2 separate regions of the Homo sapiens genome follow, and region 2 is linked to region 1. The links are contacts of gene promoters, found by promoter capture Hi-C in blood cells and fetal thymus (Javierre and others, 2016). All regions are on one chromosome and are shown on one strand. Each heading gives the region's core, a stretch centred on a gene start or on the middle of the fragment in contact. The rest is flanking DNA. Distances are from core to core; before and after follow the strand shown. Region 1 holds the start of GINS3 (GINS complex subunit 3). Region 2 has its middle 3.0 kb from the start of GCSH.

Region 1 (5,044 bases), core at 1,104-3,603:
AGAAACCTAATGAACATTACCTCTGCCAAGGTTCAAATGAACAGTACAAAGTCCTGTTGATAGTAGGCACCCTTAATATGTGATGAAAATGGCACTTTACCTCTGTGGTCTTCCTCCCTAAAGCTGATAATCAAGTCTAATGCTGAGAAAAAAAGAATAAAAAACAAAAACAAAGAAGGCTGGGCGAGGTGGCTTACGCCTGTAATCCCAGTACTTTGGGAGGCTGAGTTGGGTGGATCACTTGAAGTCAGGAGTTCCAGACCAGCCTGGCCAACCTGGTGAAACCTCATCTCTACTAAAAATACAAAAATTGGCTGGGTGTGGTGGTGGGCGCCTGTAATCTCAGCTACTTGGGAGGCTGAGGCAGAATTGCTTGAACCCAGGAGGTGGAGGAGGCTGCAGTGAGCTGAGATTATGCCACTGCACTCTGGCCTAGATGACAGGGTAACTCCGTGTCAAAAAAACAAACAAAAAAACAAAACCAAAAACAAAACTACCCCCAAACCAAAGATTTCCAACTGAGGAACATTTTACAAAATACCTGACCACCACTCCACAAAACCGTCGAGGTCATTAGAACAAGGAGGTCTGATTAATTGTCACAACCAAGAGAAGGCTAAGGAAACATGTCTACTAAATGCAGTGTGGTATCCTAGGTGGAATCCTAGAATAGAAAAAGGGCATTAACTAAAAACTAAGGAAATATGAATTAAGTATGGGCAGCATAGCGCCATGTTTACCAGTGTGTATGGGAACGAAATCCTCATCTGCTAGGATGAAGTCAACAGATAATGTCTACATTAAAAAAAACAACCCAACAAGGTAAGTTTAAGAATATTATTTAGAAATATGAAGATGAATCTTGAAGACACCACTAAAAAAGGTACATGAGCCCTGTGGACTTGGAGGGGGAAGTGGGAAAAGGAAGGCAGGACCTGCTATTTTTTTTCTTATAAATCTTTTGGTACTATTTGACTTTTTTTTTTTTTTTTTTTGAGATGGAGTCTCACTCTGTCGCCAGGCTGGAGTGCAGTGGCACAGTCTCGGCTCACTGCAACCTCTGCCTCCTGGGTTCAAGAAATTCTCCTGCCTCAGCCTCCAGAGTAGCTGAGATTACAGGCGCCGGCCACCACACCCAGCTTTCTAGTAGAGATGGGGTTTCACCATGTTGGCCAGGATGGTCTGGATCTCTTGACCTCGTGATCCGCCCGCCTCAGCCTCCCAAAGTGCTGGGATTACAGGCGTGAGCCACCGCATCCGGCCTATTTGACTTTTAAAACGTTGGTTATGTATTACTTTGATAAAAATTAACTTGAAACAAACAGACCAAACAATAAACATCGTTCTATACAAAACTTAGGTGAAACAGGATATCCAAATTAATCATTACAAGCCATGTTCCTGGGACAATTTTATATTTGAAGCCATATGGCCTTGGGTTCCGAATCCCAGCTCACCACTAACTGAAGCCCTGGCCAAGTGACCCAGCCTTTCTGGTTGCTGAAGGATTAAAGGGAAAAGCTTACTCCCCACACCCAACCATGCTGCCACTAAGTAAGCCTCAGTAGGGCTTACTGATCCTGTCATCATTATGGAGGAATGAATTTAGCAACTTGGGGTTCCTACTTATCACATGCTCTTACAGAACCCAAAGCTGTTTTAAGGCAAACATGATCAGAACTCTAATTCTTAAGTATTCAGCTGGAGCCAATCTTTAAGCATTCAACACACGTTGCATGGGGTAGGGGGAAGACACTAATTTGGACAGTTTCAAAAAAGAAATCAATGTTGGAGGCTGCCTGGCGACCTAGGATAAATGTAGTTTCACCACAGATGGCGAACAAGAAGTCTGGAGACCACCCCGAGCGCGAAGGGACCCCCGCGGAGTTTCCGAGAAGTCGTTAGCGCCTTCGGCCCTGGCTCCTCGAAAACTACAAATCCCAAAGGGCAGCGCGCCCCGATGCGGCGTCCCAGGGCCGAGGGGCCCGCCGGGAGCTGCAGTCTTTCCGGGCAGGACCCCGCACCCAAAGGCTCACCTGTGGGACCGCGTTGTCAGTCTCGGCGCCTGCGCTCCGCTCCAGGAAGAAAGCGCCAAGGCGAGGCATGGCGGTCTCCGTGCGCACCGGCAGCTTCTCGTGGGACATCAGGATGTCGTCCAAAGAAAGAAAGTTCTCCTCAGGCCCCAGCGCACCCGACTCCACTCGGAAATAAGCCTCTGACATGGCGGCCACTTGAGCTTCTCCGCTTCCACTCGCGTGATTCGGAGGAGCCTCAGGAGTTAGGGGTGTACAAGACGGGGAAGCGGAGACTGGGCAGGATGGTTGGGGTCAGGAAAGTGGATTGAAACTCGTTTCCCGCGCCCGGGGACGCATCAGACAGGAGCAGTCAATTCGGGCGGTACCGCCCAGGCAGAAGCAATCGATCAAGTCTGCAGATTTAGAGCAGCGGGACACGGCTGGGGAGCGGTAGGTGGGGGCGCCGGAAGTTCTCTTCCCTCCGCTTGCTGCACGGTGTGGGAACGTTACGAAGAAGCTGGAACGCTCGTTGAAGCTCCTGGACCCATTTGTACTGGATTGTGTTCATGTGATCCTTAACTATTTATATGAAATTAAAAACACTTTGCAACACTTTTAGGGGTTTAAAATAAAAGCATCTTGTGCCCTTCACTCCAGGCCTAAGTCCGACCCTTTCCTACAGTTTTTTTCACTATGCAACTCCGTTAATCTTAGTATTTGAAAGAAATGTTAAACAAACAAAAACTTCCAGCACTATCCCCAGCGAGTTATTATGGTCTAGATGATGAACTAGTGTGTTGTATTTTGTTAGTATTTTGGTGGGGGTTGGACGGGGTGGGTAGAGGGGTGGAGCACTAGACTGCACATGGCTTGCTAAGGTTGTGAGTATACTTCAGGGTGTCTTAGCTCATCATCAACTGACAATCTCCTTTTGTGGCTCTGAATTTAAATCCCTAAAAATGGAAATCCAATTGGTCCAGTTTATTGATTGGTCCAGGTACGCCACAATGGTCATAGATCTCCAGCCACCCTGTAGATGGGGGTGCCTGTGTTGGGTGCGATCACTATCCAGTGACCAGGGGAAGGACCATGGTCGCATAGTACCAGGTTTGGTGGCTCTCCTCAGCCAGGGCTATGGGTGGCGGCATATTGTTGAGAGATGCACTACAGAACTTACTTCGTCTAGAGCATTTCTGGGGCTACTGGAGCCGGGAGTAAAGGGTGTGTGTGAAGGGAGGTGTGTATTAACCATGGATTTTAGTTTCTGTTTTCTGTATTTTATGATGCTTTGACATCTTGGGGCCTTGGGGACCTGGGGAGGAATTGCCCCTTTCAGAGTTAGCTAATTCCTAGAGATAGCAAACAACTTGCTTGTGAACACCCCTTTCATTTACAAACCAACCAACCCAAGCCTATATCCCCACACCATCTTTATCCATCTCACACACCAATATTTTCCCTGCCCCAAGTCACTGTAATAAACCACCCCATGGCCAAGTACCAGACAACTAAAATTCACCTCTATATCCCAGAGCTTGCCAACATTATTCAAATTATTCAATCCTAAGCTTGTTCAGACTTCCCTTCCCTGCTTCGCCCATTCCTTCCCACGGCAATAAAGGCTCTGGGCTTTCTCCTCGCTCTCTCTACCTCCTCATTGACCCTAATACTTTCTCGTGTGGCCGTAGGCACAGCCCCTTCTCTTGAGAACTATAATAAAATTTTCAAAGGCATTGGCCACTAACTCATTGATTGTCATCACCCAGTCACCTTTATAAATGAAATTCTGAGGACAATGAAAACAAGGTGCAGTGGGGTGGAAAGGAATGGCCAAACTGTGGAAAATCTTGGTACCATTCTAAGGAGTTAGGCCATTCCATAGAAAATGGGAGGAAAATGTAAGGCAAATAATAACATAAATCTGGGCTTCAGGAAGAGAATTCCAGCAGTAGATAAAGAAGAGAGAGATTAGATGCTTGGAAGCTGTTCAGTGGGCAGTATTTGGCAACCAATTGGATATAGGAAGTGAAGTATAGTGAGTAGTCAAAAGATTCAAGTTTTGAACGTGGCTGACCAGGTGGATGGACATGTCATGAATAGATACACAGAACACAGGAATAGGGGCAGCTGGAGGGAAGGGATGAGTTCAGTTTGGGACACATGGTGTCCAAGAGCTACTAGACAGGAAGGTCTGCAGCCCAGTGGAGAAAGCAGCCTAGAAGCTTTAGAGAGGAGGCACACTGAGAGGCAGTTATATGAAGGTTTTTTCCTTTTTCATATTTTAAATGTTCAGTTTGTGATACAGTCCAATGTAAAAATAAACACAATCTGCAGTGATAATTTAGAATTTCTCTGATGACATGGAATATATGGTACTGGATGTAGTTTGAGACAGAAATATAATTTGGCTAATTGAAGGCAATGTTATTTACTGCCAAGGAGAGTAAGCTATTTTTTATGCTGATATAATTAAGATAGATGCATACTGATTTATTGATGCCAAAGAAAGGCATTATTTTTGTACAGAGACCACAATACTGGCTCCAAACTCAAATACCACTATTATTTTAATAATACAGTAACAGGCCAATGTTTAACATAAAATCAGATTGCCTTGTTTGTCTTACTTAATGTCTTGGCTCATCATGAAACTATCATTGTGTATATATTGTTCTATTTAAACTGTCCTCTCCTTGAACTAATAAACAAGTGAATAAATCAGAAAAAGGTGAAATTAGTGAATGTTTGAGCTTATGATGCTGAACTGCATCAATTCATTTAACAAAAGTGGCATGTGGTTTTCAAGCATAGATATGTGTTAATAGCTTAAATCCTAAGAACCAGGAGTATTTCTGTTCCCTGAGAAAGCTGTGTTCCTTGGCACCCAGCCAACCAATCAATGTACCAGTATTATGCTGAACAGAATTGCATTATACTGATAATATTCACAGTATATTTGGTATATTTACAATATACAAAATTTAGTATTCTGAAAAGTGTCTGCTGGATTCTTGAAAACAGAGTATTTT
Region 2 (5,044 bases), core at 1,935-4,434, about 23 Mb before region 1:
AGGCTCAGCCGCCCAGCCGAGGCTTACTCTGCGCTGGCTTGGGAATTTGAAATGTGGCAGTGAAAACTCAGTCATCCTCATCAGAGAGGTGGAGGGAGCCCGCTGAGGATAAAGGATGGAGCACACACCCTTGGCATTCCCAGAGGGAGGCCTTTCTGCCCTAAAACAGCTCTCAACAGTGAAGTAACCTAGGTTGAGACCAAACTGGACAATAAAACTGTGATTTCGGCCAGGGATGATGCGATGGCTCAAGCCTGTAATCATCCCAGCACTTTGGGAGGCCGAGGCAGGTGGATCACTAGATGCCAGGAGTTTGATACCTGCCTGGCCAACATGGTAAAACTCTCTCTCTACTAAAAATACAAAAATTAGCTGAGCGTGGTGGCGGGTGCCTGTAATCCCAACTACTCGGGAGGCTGAGGCGGGAGAATCGCTTGAACTCGGGAGGCGGAAGTTGCAGTGAGCCAAGATTGTGCGACTGCACTCCAGCCTGGGCGACACAGTGAGACTCCATCTCAAACAATAAAATAAAATAAAATAAATAAAAATAAAAACTATGACTTCCCCTTAGAAAGAAAAGCCCCCAAAGAAGATGGTTCTATGGGCATTGCCTGGTTCTTTCTCTTGCAGCTGTCGGAGGAAGGGGAGATCGTAGATTTGCTGCTGATGAAAATACTCAGTTTCCTGGGCATTAAGTCTAAGAGAGAGGAGCCTGGAAGCAGCAGGGAGCAGCCTGGGTCTCTGTCCCAGACTCGCCACTCTCGACCAGCACAAGCTTTGCCCAAGGACTAAGCTGTTCGTCCACACGCCACCATCTACCAGTGGGGACGCCCAGGGCCTCGGGCGTACGCTTACCAGCGACTCTATAGTCTCTCTAGGTCATAGCTTTCATGTCCATTGAAGAATTACCAAGCCCAGCAAGTAAAAAAAATTACAATAACAGAGATATATGTAAAATTGCCAATACTATGAGAGCTTCTTTGTTCAAATGTATTTCCTCTTATTATAAATAAAACAAATATTACATGGAGTTTGGAAAATTTCCTGCACAGACTAATTATTTCGTCTTTTTAGTCCGTTGGGGGTTGCTTTTGAATGATTCTAGTTCAGGGCTTCTCAAACTGTCTGAGAGATGCTAATGGATGCTGTATTAGTTTCCCAGAACAATGTATCACAAACGAAGTGGCTTAAAACGACAGAAATGCATTCTGTCCCAGCTCTGGAGCCTGGAAGTGTGCAATCAAGATGTTGGCAGTGGCCGGGCATGGTGGCTCACGCCTGTAATCCCAGCACTTTGGGAGGCCGAGGCGTGCGGATCACTTGAGGCCAGGAGTTCGAGACCAGCCTGGCCAACAGGGTGAAACCCTGTCTCTACTAAAAATACAAAAATTAACCAGGTGTGGTGGCGGGCGCCTGTAGTCCCAGCTACTCAGGAGGCTGAGGCAGGAGAATCCCTTGAACCCGGGAGGCGGAGGTTGCAGTGAGCCTAGGTGGTGCCACTGTACTCCAGCCCGGGCGACAGAGCATGACTCCGTCTCACAAAAAAAAAAAAGAAAAGAAAGAAAAAAGATGTTGGCAGTGCCATGCTCCCTCTGAGGGCTCTAGGGAAGAATCCTTCTTGCCTCTTCCAGCTTTTGGTGTTGGCCAGCCAGCCTTGGTGTCCCTTGGCTTCTAGATGTGTCACTCCCAGATGGGAAGAAGCTTGCTGGGAGCCTGTGTTCCTTCTCCTTTTCTCAGCACACCAGCCATATTGAATTAGGGGCCCACCCTAGTCCAGGGTGACCTCATCTGAACTAATTATAATACATCTGCAGGGATCCTGTTTCCCAATATGGTCACATCTGAAGAACTGGGACTTAGGACTTTGACATACCTCTTTAGGAGCCACAATTCAAACCAGAACAGGTGTCATTCCTCCAAAAATGTTTCTGGGTCAAATAAATATGGGGAATACTGGTTTATAAAAGTTTTTTTGTTTGTTTGTTTGTTTGTTTGAGACAGGGTCTTGCTCTGTTGCCCAGGCTGGAATGCAGTGGCATGATTTCAGCTCACTGAAACCTCTGCCTCCCAAGATCAAATGATTCTTGTGTCTCAGGCTTCCCAGTATCTGGGACTACAGGCACACAAGAGCATGCCTGGGTAATTTTTGTATTTTTTTGTAGAGACGGGGTTTCACCATGTTGGCCAGGCTGGTCTTGAACTCCTGGCCTCAAGTGATCTGCCTACCTAGGCCTCCCACAGTGCTGGGATTACAGGCATGAGCCACCGCACCCAGTCTACTGTATTGTTATAAGAGGAAAATATGTCTATCAGCTCAAAGAGATGAATGGGCCCCTCTCAAAACACCTGGAAGAAATGACCACCTGGAATTTTCCAGAGCTTATACTCAATGGGCAACGAGATGACCTTTAAAATCTCAAACCAGGAGGTTACAAAGATTACTAGGTAGAAAAAGAAAAAAAATTTTGACTGTCTTCAATGCTTTTTACCAAAAGAAAAACACATGTCATATTTTTTGGTGGAAGGGCCTTTTTGTAGCCCATATGTTGATGTTGATGTGTGATCTTTTTCTTCCCATCACATGAGTTAGTGAAGCTGAGAATAAATATGTTAGGGTGTAAGTGGCACGATGCTGCACTGTCTTGTAATGAAACAACAATAGAAAACAACATCTTGACATTAGAGAAGGTAGCCAAGATCTGTAGTGCAGGGTAGACCAGCGTGATCCAGTCAGCATCCCAAACGAAAGCAAGCGGAGCAGAGCTTAAGAGCAATTGCTGGCCAGGCACGGTGGTTCATGCCTGTAATCCCAGCACTTTGGAAGGCCGAGGTGGGTGGATTACAAGGTCAGGAGTTCGAGACCAGCTTGGCCAACATAGTGAAACCCCATCTCTACTAAACATACAAAAATTAGACGGGCGTGGTGGCACGTGGTCCTGTAGTCCCAGCCACTCGGGAGGCTGAAGCAGGAGAATTGCTTGAACCCGGGAGGCAGAGGTTGCAGTGAGCCAAGATCACGCCACTGCGCTCCAGCTTGGGCGACAGAGCTAGACTTCGTCTCGAAAAAAAAAAAGAAAAAAAGAAGAGTTGCTTTCTAATCAGTGTAGAGGCCAAGGTCTACTACTGCCACCTAGGAGCTACTTAAGCCACAAAAACGCCTCCCCGATCCCACTCCTCGGAAGTGCCTTCACCTCTGAGCCTCATCTATGAAATGAGTGTAACACCTGCCAGAAAGAGGTTTGGAGAGGATTAAAAAGATGTGTGCATAGTGCCAGGCACATAGCAAAGGCTCAATAGATGGGAATGATTTGCTCAAAAGAAAGTGGGCATGACGGCCCTTGCAAGCCACTGCACAGATGTGGTGGCAACCCTAAGTTCATAGCAGGGCAGAAGCTCAGTGCAACAACGTATGGGCTCCCCAAACACACACACACTCCATGGTGTGCACCCTATGGTACTGTTTCCGGTGTTTGAACAAGAACAACTCCATTTTGAATATGGGCTGGGTAAAATGAGGCTGAGACTTGGTGGGCTGCATTCCCAGGAGGTTAGGCATTCTTTTTATTTGTATTTTTTTCTGAAGCAGAGTCTCGCTCTGTCACCCAGGCTGGAGTGCAGTGGCGTGATCTCGACTCACTGCAACCTCTGCCTCCCAGGCTCAAGTGATTCTCGTGCCTCAGCCTCCTGAGTAGCTGGGATTACAGGCACCTGCCACCATGCCTGGCTAAACTTTGGATTTGTAGTAGAGACGGGGGTTTCTCCATGTTGGCCAGGTTGGTCTCGAACTCCTGACCTCAAGTGATTCACCTGCCTCACTTAGTCACAGGATGAGCTAGGGTTGGCACAAGATACAGGTCACAAAGTCCCTGCTGATAAAATAGGATGCGGTAAAGGAGCTGGCCAAAACTCACCAAAACCAAGATGGCGACCTCTGGTAGGTCTCACTGCTCATTATACGCTAATTATAATGCATTAGCATGTTAAAAAAAAAACAACTCCCACCAGCGTCATGACAGTTCACAAATGCAATGGCAACGTCCAGAGAAGTTACCCTATAGTCCAAAAAGCGGAGGAACCGTTAGTTCTAGGAAATCCCTGCCCCTTTTCTGGAGAACTCTTGAATGATCCACCCCTTGTTTAGCATACAATCAAGAAATAACTATAAGTACACTTAGTCGAGAAGCCATACTGCTGCTCTGTCTACGAAGAAGCCATTCTTTTTTTTCTTTACTTCTCTATTAAACGTGCTTTCACTTTATAGACTCTCCCCAAATTCTTTCTTGCATGAGGTCCAAAAACCCTCTCTTGGGGTCTGGATTGGGAGCCCTTTCTGTAACAGTACTAAAGGTGTGTGTGTAGCTTAAGGTGTTTTTCAGAACAGTATTTCTTTGCTGACTCATGGCCACTCCATAAAATCTGTGTTAAAGGTGAGGTTTTTCCCAGAACCTAATTTTTTTCTGACTTCTTGGATTGGGATGATGACTTCGGCTTTTCTCGGAAGGCCTTGGTCACACCGCTGGCCGATGAAACAAGGAATTGTGCACACTGGGTCTCAGCTCTCTGCGTTTTGAATATTTCTGCATTAGTGACTGGCTTGGGTCCAGTCTCCACCAAGAAGCCACTTATGACCCTTGGACAAGTCTTTATTCCTTTTTAAGTAAGCTTCTGGATTCTGCCGGTCCTGTTTGGGGTCCCTGGGGCTCTTTGAGACAGGAACGTTACAGAGCAGTTGAAGGAGAATAGAAACTTCCAGGCTGCAGTTCTGTCTAACAAAAGGAAACTGTTGAAATAGCTGCACAAGCTATGGGCTAAGACCCTGAAAAACCAGGGTGTGGGTCAACCTGGCTAAAACCAACTGGACCCAACGTGGTGTGGCTTTGACCTAGGCTTCACCTAGGACTCATTAACATACTAAGTCACACACCCACCGGCACCACAACAATTCCGGGAACACCCATATTTGGTGTAAAAATGGGTGGCACCACAGTTCTGACAAGTCTCCACCTTATTCCAGAAACCTTTGTGTATATTCCATTTCTCAAAG

The links. Contacts are between HindIII fragments. The CHiCAGO score rates a contact against its expected background, and 5 or more counts as called.
Region 2: a fragment that was not itself captured here is called in contact with the fragment with the promoter of GINS3 in region 1 in 3 of 17 cell types (non-activated CD4 T cells, naive CD4 T cells and activated CD4 T cells); the score reaches 9.8 in non-activated CD4 T cells.

What each region holds. Positions count from the first base shown.
Region 1 is chr16:58,389,780-58,394,823 of GRCh38, reverse strand. It overlaps GINS3 (GINS complex subunit 3), which reads right to left and starts at 2,353. Exons shown (of 3, transcript NM_022770.4): 1 at 2,037-2,353. The coding sequence starts at 2,222. RefSeq lists enhancers at 1,560-2,136, 2,041-2,530, 2,137-2,714. The HindIII fragment of the contact is 2,062 bases long and covers 1,524-3,585 here.
Region 2 is chr16:81,096,871-81,101,914 of GRCh38, reverse strand. It overlaps the pseudogene PKD1L2. Among named protein-coding and RNA genes, the nearest start is that of GCSH, 3.0 kb to the right of the region's middle. The HindIII fragment of the contact is 2,961 bases long and covers 1,704-4,664 here.